Regions from separate parts of the Homo sapiens genome. Here region 1 is linked to region 2. Evidence: promoter capture Hi-C in human tissues and cell types (Jung and others, 2019). All regions are on one chromosome and are shown on one strand. The core of a region is centred on a gene start or on the middle of the fragment in contact, and the rest is flanking DNA. Distances in the headings are between cores, read along the strand shown.

What was found. The method cuts DNA at HindIII sites, captures the fragments that hold promoters and counts their contacts. A contact is called where the count stands out against the background at its distance.
Region 1: a fragment that was not itself captured here is called in contact with the fragment with the promoter of CD200R1 in region 2 in 2 of the 25 tissues and cell types used here (lymphoblastoid cells and mesenchymal stem cells).

What each region holds. Positions count from the first base shown.
Region 1 is chr3:112,907,734-112,910,433 of GRCh38, forward strand. No RefSeq gene overlaps it. Among named protein-coding and RNA genes, the nearest start is that of CD200R1L, 62 kb to the left of the region's middle. The HindIII fragment of the contact is 5,502 bases long and covers 1-2,700 here.
Region 2 is chr3:112,973,763-112,976,462 of GRCh38, forward strand. It overlaps CD200R1 (CD200 receptor 1), which reads right to left and starts at 1,341. Exons shown (of 8, transcript NM_138806.4): 1 at 1,029-1,341. The coding sequence starts at 1,095. The HindIII fragment of the contact is 6,650 bases long and covers 1-2,700 here.

The sequences.
Region 1 (2,700 bases), core at 182-2,681, 66 kb before region 2:
AAACACGTTCAGCTTCCTCTATTCTCCTGGGTGATCAAGCTTTCCATCCTCCAAAATACGTTAATGTTTCCTAACCCCCTGTGTCTTCTCTCCTGACATTTTGATTCCTTTAGGCCTATATGTTTTAAATATTATTATTGTCATATTAATAGCCATTCAGGAGAGAATAGACACGATACATCTATTCAATTCACCATGTCAAACTAGAAATCTCCATTTTTATTTAAAATCCTGTGGCATTTTTTTATTTTTTTATTAAGAAATGTTTTTTCAAAGATAATTTTGGCAGAAATATAAGTAATTAAGACATTATCTTTCTTTTTTAAAACATAGTGATTAAAATAAAGTAGCATTTTCACTCTTTGAGCTATTTTAAACTGAGCATTTTAAAGGACTAGTGGAAAAGCTCTAGTGGAAAAATATTCTAATGTATTTTTCTAATTATGGTTTCCTCTCTACTTCGCCCAATACCCCTCAGCATCCCCGCAACTTGGCCAACAGACTCACCAGCTATGAAAAAAAATGTGAACAGTATCCCAAAAGCTGAAGCCATCTTCCAAAGGGAGTTATTTCTATTTTTTTTTTCTTATCTTTGCCTCTATGTTTTCTTCCACTGTATAATAGGCCTAGTTATGGTATTTTACTTCTCTTGCTCTGCTCCATTAGCACTGGTGAGAAATCCCCTGCTCTCTTAGATGGTTGTATTTTTGGCTCATGAGCAACTTAAATAGAAGCATTTCCTGTTTGCACAGTTGAGGTGATAATGACTGAATTTTCTGGTTTGTGCTTTTATACATTTACTTATTTCAAGAGAAGCATGTATATTTGACCCAGGATTCAGATCCAATTGTAATTGATTGAGCTATGTCCCAGATACTGTCAGAATGATTCTTATGAGGCATGTATAGTTATATTTATTTTTATAGATAAGGAAGTAGAGATTCGAAAAGGTTAAGAAACTTATCCTAAGTCAATTAATGATACGGTAGAAGAATAACCAGCATAGAAAGAAAGACCTTTTCATAAGTAATTTTCCTTATCTTCTACTGCATTTTGTATGTGTGTCTATGTATATTTTTTGGTATTTTGTTGTGTGGCTTATGAGAGGAGTTACACACAATCTCTCCTTCCAGGGATATGCACTTTAACATAGAAATCACTGAGGCAGAAAGTATTTAAAAGTAACATGCTCAAAAAGATCATAATACAAATAATTCTTCACCTAAATTATTGTATTAGCCTCTTCTACTTCATAATATTTACTTAATATCTCTTTTCATCTCTGTTCAGTTTGTTTTTTTTGGCTAAAGCAATTTAGGATATGCTCTTTCCTTCTGCAAACTCAGGGTTGCTACATGGGTTGCAAAGGTAAAGATAAAGAGTGCTGACCAGTAGGCTGAAGTTTCTGCCCATAAATTCTCCTTACATCTTCCTGACCACACAATAATCCTGCCCTTGGATTTTCCTGTGCGTTCTCCCCACCCACTTCCAGTGGTTCATACTGGTTTCAGTTTGGCTAGACAAAAAGAATGGTTAGTGATAACTTTGTATGAAAAAGATGGATATAATTGTGCACATTTGTTAACTTTCTATACTACAGAGTTATCACCAGGATCAGATTCTTGTCTCCAGATAGATAATTCCTCAACACATTTGAAGGTGAATTTGGGATTTTTAGTGAAATAACAAAGAAATTCTATCCTCTATTTCTTGCCCACCCTCTATTTTGAGTTGATTTTTGTGTAGGCCATAAGATAGGGCCCAATTTTATTCTTTTGCCTAGGGTTATTCAGTTTCCCCAATATCAATTGTCAAAGAGACTGTTCTGTCCCCATTGTGTATTTTTGGAATCCTAGTTGAAGATCAGTTGACTATATATGCATGAATTTATTTCTGGGATCTCTATTCTGTTATGCTGGTCTATAGATGTCTTTATGCCAGTAGCATACTGTTTTAATTACTGTAGCCTGGTAGTATATTTTGATATAAGGAAGTGTAATGCCTCCAAGTTTATTCTTGGCTGTTTAAGGTCTTTTATGGTTTCATATGAATTTTATAATTGATTTTCTATTTCTGTAAAAATGTCATGGAATTTTGATAAGAATTGAATTGAATCTGTAGATCTTTGTAGTGTCTTAGCCTATTTTGCTGCTATGACAAAATACCACAGACTGAGTAATTTGCAAACAAAAGAAATTTATTTCTCACAGCTCTGAAGGCTGAGAACTTCAAGATCAAGGCACCAGTAGACTCAGTGTCTTATGAGTGCTACTATTTGCTTCAAAGACGATGCCTTCTTGCTAAATCCTCTGCAGAGTAAGTATGTTGTGTCTTCACATGACAGAAGGGACAAAGGGGGTCCCTGTCTGCCTCTTTATTAAGTCAGTAGTTCATTCATGAGGGTGAAGCCTTTATAGCTTAATCACTTCTGAGGGGCCCCCCTCTTAATGCTGTTGCATTGAGCATTAAGTTTCAACAAGAATTTTGGAGGGAACACAAACATGAAAACCATAACAGGTAGTATAAACATTGTAACAATATTAAGCCTTCCAATCCATGAACACAGAATGTCTTTCCATTTGTTTGTGTCTTCATTAATTTCTTTCATCAATGTTTTGTAATTTTCAGTGAACAAGTATTTCACTTGCTTAGTTAAGCTTATTCACAAGTATTTTTTGATGCTAATGTAAATAGGATTGT
Region 2 (2,700 bases), core at 91-2,590:
TTTAAAACCAACTACACTCTTCCCTTGCAGCTGCTCTGTCTACCAAAAGTGAAACCTGAAAACTCCCTCCCACACCAACTCCTACCAACCTTCTACAGTGAAACCAGGACACCCCCACAGTGGCCCAAGTTCTCTATAACTTCTATAGGAACCTAGATGTTGAAGAGTCTGTTCTCTAACTCGTAGTGTCTCTTACAGCCCACACATCTTGAAGATAAATACAGACATACATCACAGACGCACCACTGTAACTGTAGGCATATTATATTTTTGAAGTGCCTAATCATCGAAAGTGACAGAAAGCAATAAACTGTCCTAATCTATGCCACTGGCAATGTGGACCTAAATGAGTTAGCGTTCTTATCTTAAAAAAAAAAATTAAGAGAGAAGAGGCTGGGTGCAGTGGCTCATGCCTGTAATCCCAATGCTTTGGGAGTCTGAGGTGGGAGAATTGCTTGAAGACAGGAGCTCAAGACCAGCATGGACAATATAGCAAGACTCTATCTCTACCAAAAATTTTAAAAATTAGCCAAGCATAGTGGCGCATATCTGTAGTCCTAGACACTCAGGAGGCTGAGTGGGAGGACTGCTTGAGACCTGGAGTTACAGGCTGCAGTGAGCTACGATTGCACCACTGCACTCCAGCCTGGGCAACAGAGCAAGACCCTGTCTCAAAAAAGGGGGTTGGGGAAGAGAATAAGATAAAGAGAACCTAACTGACTTTGATTGCTGCTAGTATGTATTTGATTTATCCTGCCTTGTTCAAAAAACAGGAGGAAATAAGGAAATGGACAGTAAGACAAATTATAGAGATCTGTATATTGTAGTAGGATACAAAGTACAACAAGCAAGACACCGGAAAAAAGGATAATAAAGTAAACTAGATATGGGAGTAACCCATATTTAGCAACCCCCTATATTTATTATTGCAATTGATTTGTATTGCCCCAGAAGAAAGACAAAAAATAAACTCAGGAAGAGCTGAGACCAGGTTTCTCACTGTTCTCCCAAAGAGAATTCAAACTTACCGGCCACTAAGAAGATAGTCAAAATCAACAGTAGCCCTAGGTTAGCAGTTCTCCAAGGGCAGAGCATTTCTGTTTTCTCTTTTTCTGCCCTTCACTCAGTACTTTTCCTCCACACAGGTACAGAAGGAACTGTGCGCATGGTGAGACCCTCTCTGGTCAACTTCTCAGTACAGGATCCTCTTACCCCATCAACAGTGGGGCACTCCCTTCCTTCTAGCCCCTTCCTTCACGTCTATGTGGTTTAGCCTGGTTAGTAACTTGGACGAACAGAAGCTTTTCTCTGGAACTTGACACAGCAATAGATTTCCTGTATGAAGCCCTGAAGCAAAGACGGAGGAAGCAGATTGATTGAATTATCTCTCAGCTCATTGGTTCTCCTCTCACTTCTGCTGTACACAGACAAACTTTACAGTAAGGCATTGAACGTGTCCAAGATAAACAGATTTGTCTAAACTTGCACCAAAAAGTAAAACAGAATATTGATCTACTTTGGCCCATCCTTGTAAATTTCCCAATTATGATGACTTTTAGAGGCTTTCTCCAGGTTGAAGAGCTTTACGGCCTTAGTATTTGAGTCTGGAATACAATATGTTTTCTTGAAAATTATTGTGTGAAATTCCTGTCTATAATGGGAGTCAACACACAACCCTGTAAACATCATATGTGTATTAGTTTCCTATTGCTACTGTAAGAAATTACCACAAACTCAGTGGCTTAACACAACACAACATTTATTATCTTACAGTTCTGGTGATCAGAAGTCTGAAATGGATCTTAGGGGACTAAAATCAAGGTGTTGGAAGGGCTGCACTCCATCTGGAGGCTCGGGCAGAATTTGCTCCCTGCCTTTTCCAGCGATTTGAGAATGCCTGCATTTCTTGGCTTGCAGCTACATCATTCGGACCTCTGGTCCACTGTCACATCTTCTCTGACTGTGACCCTTATGCCTCCCTTTTATAAAGACCTTGTGATTATTTTTGGTCCACCCAAATAATCCAACATGATCTAATTTCAAGATCTTAATTTAATCACATCTGCAAAGTCCTTTTTGCCACACAAGGTAACATTCACAGGTTTCGGTAATTCGGACATAGGTATCTACCTTGTTGGGGGTGAGGGCATTCTGTTTATCAGAACTCAGTACTTATTGCCATTCAGTTTCACCTTTGGAAAATTAGACTGATCATTTTAACCAAATTACAAATAATCACCCATCTCTTAGTTGCCACACATCTGGAATTCAGACTCCCCCTAACCAAAAAAAAAAAACAACAACAACAACAAAAAAACCTCTTCCTTACTGTTGCTAGTTACTATGTTACTATGCTTTTAAGTTATGTCTGAGAGAGGGAAAAATCTTCTATGTGCTGAGAATTTTCTGCCCCAAGGCAAAACTGTACAGGAAGGGGAAGAAAACATTGCAAACAGGAAAAAGATTAAACAGCATGCATTTTTTTTCTCAGTTAGCAGTTTCATCTTCCTTCTTGCCAAACATTATAAATATTTCCCCCCTTCCCCTTCTCAAGCTTTTTTTTCCAGTTAATTAATTTGATGAAGACAGTGAAACCAGATCCTTGAGGGCATGGAACACTTAAGGGTATGAGCTGTGACAATGGGAAGACCAAAACAAAAATGTCTTCTCTTCTGTCTAATGTTTCACCAGGTGTCGGAA